3 separate regions of the Homo sapiens genome follow, and regions 1 and 3 are each linked to region 2. The links are contacts of gene promoters, found by promoter capture Hi-C in blood cells and fetal thymus (Javierre and others, 2016). All regions are on one chromosome and are shown on one strand. The core of a region is centred on a gene start or on the middle of the fragment in contact, and the rest is flanking DNA. Distances in the headings are between cores, read along the strand shown. Region 1 overlaps MECOM (MDS1 and EVI1 complex locus). Region 2 holds the start of MECOM (MDS1 and EVI1 complex locus). Region 3 holds the start of LOC107986051 (a long non-coding RNA gene).

Evidence for each region. Contacts are between HindIII fragments. The CHiCAGO score rates a contact against its expected background, and 5 or more counts as called.
Region 1: a contact is called between a fragment that was not itself captured here and the fragment with the promoter of MECOM in region 2, in 1 of 17 cell types (endothelial precursors). The highest score is 7.9, in endothelial precursors.
Region 3: a fragment that was not itself captured here is called in contact with the fragment with the promoter of MECOM in region 2 in 1 of 17 cell types (endothelial precursors); the score reaches 6.1 in endothelial precursors.

Annotation. Positions count from the first base shown.
Region 1 is chr3:169,099,700-169,103,801 of GRCh38, reverse strand. It overlaps MECOM (MDS1 and EVI1 complex locus), which reads left to right. Exons shown (of 17, transcript NM_004991.4): 11 at 1,576-1,742; 12 at 2,840-2,917. Among named protein-coding and RNA genes, the nearest start is that of LINC01997, 99 kb to the right of the region's middle. The HindIII fragment of the contact is 809 bases long and covers 1,384-2,192 here.
Region 2 is chr3:169,661,938-169,665,979 of GRCh38, reverse strand. It overlaps MECOM (MDS1 and EVI1 complex locus), which reads left to right and starts at 2,268. Exons shown (of 17, transcript NM_004991.4): 1 at 2,268-2,644. The coding sequence starts at 2,608. RefSeq lists a silencer at 3,277-3,376. The HindIII fragment of the contact is 2,702 bases long and covers 2,047-4,042 here.
Region 3 is chr3:169,061,125-169,065,772 of GRCh38, reverse strand. LOC107986051 (a long non-coding RNA gene) reads left to right here and starts at 1,580. Exons shown (of 3, transcript XR_001740574.2): 1 at 1,580-1,658. The HindIII fragment of the contact is 3,196 bases long and covers 857-4,052 here.

The DNA of each region.
Region 1 (4,102 bases), core at 539-3,038, 560 kb after region 2:
TCAGGCCATGCTGTTAAGACTTTGCTCTACTTTAAGAAGCTGATGGTATTCTGTCCAGCTGTGTGTCCACAGAATATATGTCTTGTTAATTTTTCCTTCTGAGTAGGAAATGTTGCCTTTTATTTTTAACTTGAGCTCATAAATTAGGCCTCCATCTCTGTCCTGCTGTCTCATTAGCAAAAGGATAGTTTCTTGGGTTGACCAGTTGTTTGAATTTGCAGTGATCATCTCAGTTCTTATGTGTCTTCTGGTCTAGCATCACAGCTCTTTGAGATTTTTATGTAATGCATATAGAATGCAAACACCTTTTAAAATAGCTTCTTGAGCTTTCTAATGGCACACTGCCCTGAGAATCAAATAAATAATGGGTGAGTTGATTTAACAGGATGGCCTGAAAGTTTGTTTTTCTACTTAAAAATTCAGTAATAAGCAGCTTCCAAATAAAATGTGAGCCCTGAGGAAACACAACATGTTGAGAGGGTCAAAGGAAAGGGGAGAGTCCCTCTGGCTGTGGAGCTTAAGAATCAAGCTAAGACTGGGCACAGTAGCTTATGCCTATAATCCCAGCACTTTGGGAGACCGAAGCAGGTGGAAGGATTGCTTGAGACCAGGAGTTCAAGACCAGCCTGAGCAACATAGTGAGACTCCATCTCTACAAAAAGTTTTTAAAAAACAGGGATCAAGCCAACTTTAAAAGTAAATGCCATCTTCTGCTTGTGACTCTCAAATAAGTGTGCAGGTGTACAAAAACTTGAAGATTATAAACAACAAAAATTAGATTACTAGAGGGGAAGAATTAGGCAGGGATAGTTTTCTTTCAAGAATGTTTCTCGAAAAGTGTGGTTACATAAACTGCTCCCCCTGTCTTACAAGGCACATGCCAAGTTATGTTATATGAAATTATATTAACATATGATGAACTGTCATTTCAACTTAGTCTTTGTCTTTGATAAAATTAATATTTAATCAAAATTCTTTGTATATGATCCTACATAAAAATATGGCATATCCAGATGTTAATTTAATGTAGTCTTAGGCAATACCCTCCTATACATTTAGTTTTTTCTTTCTGAGTTACCCATATTTGGCTTAAGCTGTAATTCTGTAATACTTCATGTTCTCCCATGCTTTCAGTTCTTTTCTTGGGACTGCATGGTTCTTACGGTTTTCATTGCCTAGGTAAGGCATATAGCAACTTTTCCTATAATTTCCGTTATGTTAATATCCATACCATGATACTAATGCTGTCATTTAATCAAATAAAAAGTTAACTTGGCTTTATTGGCTCTCTTATGTATTTCAATGTTCAATTATATATCAGATTATGATAAAATGGCCTAACCAAGGTCTTATGGAAAAAGTTCGCTCAGCATTTTATAAGCTTGGTTCTACTTATGGTATTTCCCAAATAAATCAATTCTGTTGTTGTTTATTTAATATTGGGATACTACAGTCTCTTTCTACAACCCGTCGCAGATTTCATGCTTCCCTTTTAATGATGTCCTTGGTTTGCCAGAGATTATTATAGAAGACAAGATGCCAAACGCTTCATGGTCTTGTGCTTTTACCTTTCAGATGTCAGCTATTGAAAACATGGCAGAAAAGCTAGAGAGCTTCAGTGCCCTGAAACCTGAGGCCAGTGAGCTCTTACAGTCAGTGCCCTCTATGTTCAACTTCAGGGCGCCTCCCAATGCCCTGCCAGAGAACCTTCTGCGGAAGGGAAAGGAGCGCTATACCTGCAGGTAACTGCACAGTTAATTATGGCTGACTTTCCAGAAATCTCCCCTCTGATTTCAAAAGGTCTTGCTGTTTGTTTTGGAAATTATTCCTGATTAGATGATTAATAGCCACCATAATAGATCTCCAGCACTTCAAAGTGTTCTTCATTTAGTGAAATATAAAAATAGTGTTTTTAAAAAATTATTAAATGTGAATTTTAACACAGGACATTTGGTTGTGATAAATGAGGTTGGAAACAATCCAAATACTATCTACTTGTCTCACTTTGATATTTATGAATTTTCTTTCACAATTAATTATTTTCATCTAAAGGTATACTACTACTGTCCTCAAGCATATATTTATTAATTGTCATGGCATTAAAGAATAAGGCCATTAATTAAAGAGAAGTAAGGTCCATAAGTGAATAAAACTAGCTAGTAAATTTTTTGTTACTCATCAGTAGTAAAGCTTATTTTATGTTTCTGGTTTTGTGTGTGATTTTTTTTTGCTAAATAAATTGTGCTTATAATTTCTGAATCATCTTTAGAAATGTGTAGGTATTTGACTCAGGCATATCACTTTATCTTCTCTTTGAAAAATATGTCACTTTCTTTCCAGAAATAAAGCTTTTATGGGTACATACCTTGATGGATGAAGTCTCAGGATTTTGTCTGATCTGATACCACTCTATGCATAGGGAGTTATCACTGTGGCTGACATGTAAAATGAGTTGAAACATTTGAAATCTGTTTACATCAACCCAGAATCAGAAACTCTTATCATATTTTTATCCCCTTATCTGGTTCAATTTTGTGAATGTAAAAATATTGAGTTAATAAGAGAGATGTATAGGAGTAATCAAAACTAAAGTCTATTTTCATAAATTGCTTGCTTATAAGTGAACAAATTCAACCAGATCTTAGAATGCAGTCTTTATTTGTAGAGTTATTTATATTAATATCTGTGAAATGGCTTTGTTGTAAATTTTAAATACCAAAGAAATGTGAGTTCCATGCAAGATTAATTGAATCAGGAATAAGCATCTGGCTGCTGTGTGGCATGAGTGAAATATAGTCAACTGTGCTGACTTTCTCTTATAAACATCTTTTCATAACAGATACTGTGGCAAGATTTTTCCAAGGTCTGCAAACCTAACACGGCACTTGAGAACCCACACAGGAGAGCAGCCTTACAGGTCTGACAATGATATTTGCTAAATATCTTGATAAATATTGTAATAATTAAAGTTTATTTTAATAATAAAATAATAATTAAAGTTTATAATAATTAAAGTTTAAATTTTATGCGTGTCTGAATATATGTCTATTCAATTTTGAGTCAAGAAAGAATTGACTAATGGCTAGGATCAAAATTAGAAGAGTTCCAGTTTCTTTAATCAAGGCTTCCTACCTCTCAGTTTAAAAGTTCTAGCACAGTGTCTAGGACAGAATAAGTACTTAAGAAATGCTAGCCATTTTAAATATTATTTTTTATTATCATTTGTTCTCTTTTCTCAATAATTAGGATGATCTTAATTGACAAAAATCATAACTTTGCAGCCTTCCTTTTCCAAGCCTCAAATCTCTGCTAGGAGTTAATAACCCATATGTACTTTTTTTCCCCCAGCACAGCTAAGTCATTTTCCATGGATTCCAATAGGAGGTTTAAAGGATAGATTTTAGGCTGGGCATGGTGGCTGACGCTTGTAATCCCGACACTTTGGGAGGCAGAGGCAGGTGGATCCCTTGAGGTCAGGAGTTTGAGATCAGCCTGGCTAACATGGTGAAACCCTGTGTCTACCAAAAATACAAAAATTAGCCAGGTGTGGTGGCTCACACCTGTAGTCCCAGCTACTTGTGAGACTGAGGCAGGAGAATCCACTGCACCTGGGAGGTGGAGGTTGCAGTGAGCCAAGATTGCACCACTGCACTCCAGCCTGGGTGACAGAGTGAGACTCTGTCAAAAAAAAAAAAAAAAAGAAAGAAAGAAAGAAAGAAAGAAAAAAAGAATAGATCTTAAACCTGGGAAGTCAGGGGAGAAGAAAATATGAAACTAGAGGTAGGACAGATAAAATAGAGTATATTATAGAAAAACGGGCAATTTTATCAATAATTTCCTAAATTACCTCTTAGTTTATTCTATTACATGCCAAAATTAGTCATATGACACATTGGACACATCTAATTTTAATATTGTTTAGAAAGATTAGATTGAAAATAGACAACATTACTCTTTCCAATTTTAAAATATAAACTACATTATTTAATGTTCAATGCCTTGCACACAGTATTAGTTACTCGTAAATATTTCTTCAAAGAATGAATATTATACAACTTAAGTAATATCATAATGTCATTCTCCTTTGAAATTCTTATACATT
Region 2 (4,042 bases), core at 1,019-3,518:
TCTCAGAGTTTGGTACCTTGGTCCCCTCCTTTCCTAGGAACATTTCTTGCACCCCTCTTAACCTCCCGTCTCCAAGGGAACCTAGACATAGACAGACCCCCTGGGGATGAGGTGAAAGGGATTAGCCGGAGGAGTGGAGGGGAGGATGGCGGTTCTTTTCTTTTTTCTTTTCTTCTCTTTCTTTTTTTTTTTTAAGCTACCTTGGCGGTTGGGCACCAAGGCAAGGTGCTCAGCCACCCCTGGGGTGCCTGGCAGGGAAGGTGAGGATTGGAGGGACAAGACCTAGATTTTGACAGCTGGGATCTTCAGGTGCTGCTGGTCTGTCCCCTGGCCTAGGGGATGGTCCCTAGAGAGTCTCTTACACCGATCAGAAGCAGCCTTATGAACTTCTTGCCAGTCAGCCTAGTGTTTGTCTCTCCCTAGAGATTTTGTCCCCCCTTCCAAAGCCTCTCAAGACCCATTTCTCCGTTTCCTCGGAGGACATTTGCTGGTCAGAGGGTAGGCACCTCTCCATCTAAACTGAGGGAAGCTGGTGGAGTCACATTTTGGGGGAAGTTTCAGAGTCAAAGACCTGTGTGAACCTAACAGAATGTTGGAATGGCTGGTGCTTTTGCACACACCAAATGTGTTAGCACACTCACCTTTATGCACAGGACAGCGGGAATTCTAGGTCTGGAAAAAAACCCAGGTGCCTCTTTAATTCAGAGTGGATAATAGAGTTCTCTTGTGCCCACGCGTGTGGGCACTAGAGCCTTCTCTTTTGGAAGTTGTTTTACTCCTGTTGTGAGTAATTCCCTCCTTTACCTTCCTACTTCCCTTCCTCACATTTCAACCTTATACATCTGTCTCCCTTGAGACCTGTAGCTTGGTTCTCCAGGGACCTCTATCTTACAGCCAAATGCCCCCAGAATTACACAGCTCTGGATAAAGGAAAATGGTAGGCATCCTTAACAAGGACAAATTCTTTGAACTTTGATTCTCTTGAATAAAGAGATTTGCAGGCCATTGATACCCTTTGGGGTTGAACCTTGTTATTTGCTCTCTCATGTCTGCAGTCCTAGATTTGATAATAAATACCAACAGGTACGACTGGGCATTCTCAATGATTCCCCTTTCCCTCCACAGCCTTTGCCAAACTCATGCCCAGGACCTGCTTTTCTTTTCCTTTAACTTGAACATCAAGGATGTATTGTTGCAGCACGGAGACTGAAAAGATTGTAATTTTCTTTTATGGTGTCTGGCAGGATTTGCAACAGATATTAATGGGGACATAAATAGCACATGGAAGGTATTGAACAAAACTGTTTAATGCAAGAAGGTTGTACCAAAAGAAAATCTATACCTAGTTGGGATTGATTCATACCTTGTACACAGCTAGCCCCTTTAGGAATTCCCATTTCTGAGTGGCACTTCATTGGTAAATCCTGTAATTAAAGGAAATTTCAACAATGTATTTTTTTAAGAGTGTGTGATTTTCCTCCCTACTCCTCTTTCTTTTGACCCCGAGGTTGTAGGTTTAAGCGAGTGAGTGAAAATGGCAGGCAAGCAGAGCTGCATCGGGAGGCGACCGGGGCAGCAGTGGGGGAGGCCGGAAGGTGACAGCCGACCTCTGAGAAAGCAGGAGGTCTTTGGATGTCAAATGCCAGCGCCGGCCCGGACCCGGGAATCAAGGGTGATCATTACTACTTGGTAGGGAAAGAATACTGAAATGTCCCAAGGATGGCAGCAAGCATTGGTATTACAGCTAAAATCGAGGAAAAAACCAGTTATTTATTCTGCTTACAACCCTGAAAGCGGAAGCTGCAATAGCTTCAGTAGCAGTAGCAGCGGCAGCAGTAGATTTCTCAAGTTCAGGATGATTCTCACTTTCTCCTGGATTATTAGCCGAGGGTCCAGCCCTTCTAGTTCTTTAACAGGAGAAGGGTTTTTAAAAAATGTTTTTAAAGTTTTTTTCCCCCCTGGCTTCTTGCTTCCCTCGTAGATGGTATAGAAAAATGTCTGCAATTTATGGTGGGAAAAACAATAACAATAATCATGATACAAGCTTGTTGGCGATTCTAACATGGAATCAATCCTCTGCCCAAGCCTTTTCAATTCCCCCCTCCCCTTTTTTTGGGCGAGGTGTCTGCTCCCCTCTGGCTCCCTGCGTTCGCTCCCCGCCCCCCGCCGCCCTCCCCGCGGCTCCCTTTCTCCGCCTCCTCGGCGATTGCCATCTGACAAGATCTCCAAATCAAAGTGATAAATCGCTCCAAACTTTTTTTGGCGGCGCTGAGATGTTGGAGGGGCGTCTAGCGCGCATGTGCGAAGGTGTCCAAACTGACAATGCTGGAGAGATAGCGAGTGTGGATTGAGAGAAAGGGAGAGAGGGAGGGAGAGAGAGTGAAAGAAGAAAATACAGAGAGTGAGTGTGTGGAAGAGAGAGAGAAACAGGAGAGAAACAGGAGGGAGGGAGAGAGAGAGAGAGAGAGAGAGAGAGAGAGAGAGAGAGAGAGAGAGAGAGAGAGACAGGAGAGAGAGGGAGGGAGCGAGAGGGAGAGCAAAAGAAGGAAAGGATCCAAGAAAAAAAAGCCCCAACCACACACCAGCGGCTGCAGGACTGGGCACAGCATGAGATCCAAAGGCAGGGCAAGGAAACTGGCCACAAGTAGGTGCAATATCCCTTTTCTATTGGCTTTTCCCCCTCCTCTGCCATCTTGCATATCTGTCTCTAGCGCTCCGGGAGGGAGCGCGGGCTGCCTCTTGCGCCGGGGCCCCGGGTGGAGGGCAGGCGGAGCGCAGCCCCAGCAACCTGCCGGTTCCAGTCTCTGCTCCCGGTCGCCCGCGCTCTCGCTCCCGGGTTGGGCGCCGGAGGAGCCTGGGCAGCCCTCAGTCCCGCGCACCGACCAGCTGTGGCAACCCCGGGGTGGGGGTGGGGGTGGGGGCAGCAAAGACTAGGGGTGGGAGGGAGGAGAGAGCGCGAGAGTGAGCGCGAAGGGGTGGGGTGGGGGGGAAGAGAAGAGGAGAAAGTCTCCCCCTCCCCTCCCCTTCCCCCCAGGCGGGGGAGAGTTGCCTCTGGCCAACCAGCTAGTCCCGGGTGTGGGAGGAGGGGGGCGCGGGGGATGGGGGGCCGGCAGGAGAAGGGAGCCTTTTCGAGCCTCGGTTTGTTTCTGGGGTTTGGGTAGGGTAGGCGGCTCAGAGGGAGCCACAGTGGCGGCGGCGGCGGGCGGCTGTGGTGGACTTGGGAAAAGTTGCGAGGCGGCCGCTGGAAGTTGCGCGGGCGGGCGGGTGGACTGCGCCGAGCCGCGGCTGCGGTAGTGGGCGCTGTGCGCTCGGCCATGCTCTCCGGCGCGGCGCTGCGCGGCGGGAGGACTGCGGCGGGGAGTAGGGGACACCAAGGTGGGGGCTGTGATCGCGGGGTGGGGGCGGGGGCACGGGCAGAGCAGAGCTACCGGCTCCGCACAGCCACGCGCAGGTGGGGAGGAAAGAGGCCCAGCGAGCGCTCGGACGTGGGGAGAGAAGAGGCCCAGCGAGCGCTCGGAGAGCCGGGAGTGGAGGGCACACAGCCAGCGGCGGCAGCCTAGGAGCAGGAGGCAGAGAGGGCGCGCTGCGACCCGCGCACCTCGGGCTTGCTGGGCGCCGAGCAAACCCCAGGGGGCGGGCTGCCAGAGCGTTGGGCCGCGGAGAGGGCGCAGCGCAGCCTCCGGCGCTTCGTCTGGGTGCAGCCTGGGTCCAGGGTCAATAACCCTCCCCGGCGCCCCCTGCCTGCCCGGCGCGGAGCGGCCTTGGTCTGGCGGGATGTGGGCTAAGGGGTTTGGGGAGGGGGCGGTGGGAGTCCCATCCCCCACTCTTACAGCAAAAGTGTTGGATGACTCGCCTGGCTTTGCCGGCGGGGCCCACACTTTCCCACACGGTGTGATGCTCCGCCAGGACTGTAGACGACAGGACTGCGTTTGTCCAAATGCTTCTACTTCGAGTTGAAGGGGACTCAGGGACACTGAGCCCCGGAGCGGCTGGGAGCGCTCTTCCTTGAGGTGTCAATAGGCGGGGCTGGAGCTGCCTCGGG
Region 3 (4,648 bases), core at 1,205-3,704, 600 kb after region 2:
TTGGCTTGAGGTATGCCCACTAGCAGTGTGCTCTACCCTCTAGAGAACTGACTGGAGAAGCATCCCCACCCAGAAAAAAGATGGAAAAAGCATATTTACATACTTGGAGGTAAAACACATGCTTGAGAGAGTAAGAGATGGGGAAATAGAGTATTTGAGAGCGTGAAAAGAGTGGAGTGGCTCACAGAGCAAGTCCCTGCAGGAGGTAAGAGGGGTTAAGATCTAGTGCAGAGATCTGTGAAGAGGGCCTTGGCCTTTGCAAGGAGGGAGGGAGGGAAACTATGAATGCAGATCAATTTTTAGGTGGAGAGGGAGCTTAATAGTTGTTCATACTCTAGGCTTTCACTTTCTCTGTGAACTAGGGAAAAGCAGGATTGAGACAAATGAGGAGAGTACGCCTGACTAAAGCAGTTAGCTGCAATTCTTAGAGAACTCCTTATTGCAGTGCTTGGGAGAGGTACTCAGACGAGTGAAAGACCACCAAGTGGTCTTCAGGATTAAGCTGAAAATAATTCCTGGTTGCTGCAAACTGTGTGACCATGGGATGGATTTTTCTTGGCTGTGAAGGAACAGGAGACATAATGTTCACTACAAGGTAAATGCAGGATCATGCTCAAAGGTGGTTTGGTGAACATTTAAAGGGAAATTACATAAAGATTTCTGAGATTTTTTTTCTTAATATCAAGTCTCTGAAAACAGAAATGGAAAAGATCTCCTTCCTCTCCCCAAGCAAAACTGCTTGTTAGAAGGGACTCCAAGAATGCATGCCTCATTTCCAAAGTCCTGGGTAAGGAAGAGAGCTCTACTTCCCTTAAGAATTATTTCAGAGCCTAACAGTTATTGTAGCCAGGAAGCTTATTTTCTCTCCTCCTGATATTCAGTCCAAATTATGTTCTTCTTGATTTCAACCTATTATTGTTAGTCATTTCCTCATGGTTAGCTTAGGAATCTCTATCCCTTCCTGGTATTTACACCTTCCAAATATTATGTCGACTTATCACCTGACCTGGCAATAACTGTTTAAAAATACATTTTTGGTTTATATATAGGATGATGGTTTTACATCCTATAAACACACTATACATGGATGTCTAGGGAGTAGGGAAAATACGCTTTTGTGTGAGTGAAAATATGTTGGCCATATATACCTGATATATGTAATTATAATCTTCATAATCATTCATTTCAGATTTGCCAACTTGCACATGTGGAAATGTTCAATTTGTAATGTGATTATAACACAAAAACAAAGCATGTTTGATACCTGTGGCTTGGTCGTTTCATAGTAACTGCAGAAAATTCAAAAAACCGTGTTACATTTCATATTCCTGGCCAAGTCAAACTCTGAAAGTAGCTCTATAATTCTTGGGGAATCTCTTTAAGCAGACTTGTGTCAAGGTCAATTAGAATCCAAACAGCCTTTTTCTAATTGGGGTGAGGTATGCAGTTGAATAATTCTGTCATTAAGCAAACCCCTTATAAAGGTTACAACTCCAAGGCAAACCTCAGCCCCAGGGCTGAATAAACACAGGAGAATAAGAGTGCAGCATTCCACGACTGGCACCTTCACCTCATAATCCCTGAGGAGAGGGTTTTGGATTTCTTTCTGTGCTATTGCCATCCACTTCTCCTTCTACCCATGCCATTTCTCATACCTGGTAAGGATATAACAGAATTAAGGGTGCAAGTGTAACTTTTCTATTAGCTTTATCCTTGTCAATAAGCCATACTGTTTTTCCTTCTTTAGGATGAGAATAATGGAGAATTCTACAGAACTGGTTCAATTTTTGGGTAAATCCGTATTGACTGTGGCATTCTTGGTTTATTCCAATTTGAACTCTTCTGTCTTTCTAAGACTTATCTCTCCCTAACTTTTCTCATTCCCCCAAGCTCAAAGATACATATCTTTGTTCATGCTATTGCTTCTGACAGCGATACTTGATCACTCATAAAACCTCACAGGCTTGAGAAATTGGCTGACCTCGCTCAAATCCTGTCTCCACCAGTTATAGCCTGTGTGACAATAGGTAAGGTATTTAATGTTTCTAAGTCTCAATTTCCTTGGCTGTAATGGGTTTACTTTAATAGTAACCTTACGGTTTTGTTTGGGGGAAGTAGAATTAAATTAATATGCTAAGTGCCTAATAAAAATAATAATAATCATCATCATAACTAATTTTGCGGTGTAGGCAGGTATTCCCGAAAAAGAGACTTAGAAATGGAGACTTATATGCAGGAAGTTTATTGGGGATTGTTTTTGGAATTAACACCTGTGGAAGTGAAAGAAATTGAACTATGATGCAGTCACAATAAAAACCTCAGCCTGTCTTCTGGAGAGCTCGGGAGCTGGGAAGGCCTTTAGAGTTGTCGCAAATCATGGCGAGGGGTCTGGTTCTTTAATTCCAGCATCTACTGGTCGTTGGATAAGGAGTGGTGCTGCAGAGGAAGCATGGTCTTGGATGTCTTTGAAGGACTGACGAGTACCGAAGTAGAGACATATGGATAGCACACTACGGTATTCAATAGAGACTATTCTTGCTGGGAGTGGTGGCTCATGCCTGTAATCCTAACACACTGGGAGGCCAAGGTGGGCTGATTGCTTGAGCTCAGGAGTTCGAAACCAGCCTGGGCAACATGGCAGAACCTTGTCTTTACAAAAAAAAAAAAAAAAATTAGCCAGGAGTGGTGGTGTGTGTCTGTAGTCCCAGTTACTTGGGGGCTAACGTGGGAGGATTGCTTGAGCCCAGGAGGTCGAGGCTTCAGTGAGCTAAGATCAGGCTACTGCACTCCAGCCTGGTGACAAAGTGAGACCCAGTCTCAGAAAAAAAAAAAAAAGAAAAAAAGAAGAGACCATTCTTGGCATTTCTTGGATCCACTTCCTAGGAGCAACTCCTTCACAGTTCTGTTGGATGTCTTTTGCTGAGGAAACTTAAAAGAAGAGTGTTAGTGGTATAAACATCAGACACTGCTACTGTAGTTGGTCTTGAGTCTGCAACTGATACTCATTCTCTCCCATCTCTGTCATTTTAAATTCCCTTGGTTGGCACATGAAGGTTTAGATGACTTATCTTATGGCGATGATCCAGAATCTCATTGCCAAGAGGTCTGATCTCATTGTCACCATACCTTTGTTAGTCTGTGGTCACTTCATTTCTTCATTTACCATCAAAATTGGCAAGGGAGTATCAAGAGACACCCAGGTGGATCACATGAGTACTGAACATATTCCTTCCTGACCCCAGTGTATGACAGCAACTCTCTCTACTCGTGATGATCAAGGTTAATTATCCCTGCTAGCATAGTAATTTCTTTCTTTGCTCTTGGTGTCCTGACATGCAGAGACCAAAGTGATCAGGCAGCAACTGCAGCTCAAGGCTTAGTATAATGTCTCCTTCTGAAAGCACTTCCCTTTAGGTATTATAGTCCCTAAACTTGCAGGTATGGGAAGCACAAATTCCCCAAGTCAATAAAAGTAATGGCAGTAAGACCACTCCTGTTTTCTTTCCTTGGGTCTTGGACCCAGGTATTCTAAATATTAAAGACAGAGAACCATATAATGGTCATTGGTTTAGGTTATATAACTGCATCATGAAGTATCCTACTTTATGAAGGATAGGGTCTTATCTTCACGGTCTATCATCTCCAAGCTGGCTGTAATTGCACTATTCCATTATTCTATCAGGCCAGTTTGGTGGAGCAGTATGTGATATAACCAATGGCTCCCATGGCCCTGTGTCCACTACCACACTTTCTTTAGTCTAGAGTGTTCCTTGGTCCAATGTGATGTTATGTGGGATCCTGTGTTGGTAATCAAACTCTGTGCACTCTCAGCTAATGATGGTGGGTGAGGTCCTGCAAGCAAGAAATGCAAGTCCATACTTAGAATGCATGTATAAGATGAGTTGCTGCCCCTTTCGAGGAAGAAGGGGTCCAATATTGTCAACTTGCCACTAAAATGGATGTCCTTGAGATACAATACTATAAAGAGCACACAAGTTGGACTCTATTCCTCACAAGCTGGACATTTGACAGTGGAAATAGCTAGATAAGCTTCAGTGAGGGAGAGCTCAGGCTTTTGGTCCCATGCAGATTGTCCATTCCTTCATCAGGCTACACCATTCATGCATCTATTGTGCAAGTACTGGGGCTGCTGATGAGCAGTCTGGCTAACATCAGCTGACTAGGTCATTCATTCTTTTTTCTTCTTCTACTCTTCCAGCTTTATCAAGCTACAACTAACAAGTAAAATTGTATATATATGAAGTACACAATGTGATGATTTGATATGTGTGTATATTATGAAATGATTACCACAATCAAGTTAATTAACACATCCAGCATCTCACATAGTTACTTTTGAAATTTTATTTTGGTGAGATGCTAAGATCTCTCTTAAGACATTTCAAGTAAACAATACAGTATTATTAACAAGAGCCATCATGCTGTTCATTAGTCCAGGTTAGAATGTATACTAACCTCATAACTGATTGGATTGTTTACTATAGACTCTGAAGGAATCTGTAGCTTGGTCTCCAATGTAGTCACCGCTTCTTGATCTATTCAGTTTAACTAACATGGTATCATTGATATAGTAGACCAATGTCATTTTCTTCAGAGTATCCATATGGTCCAAGTCCTTGGGACAGGA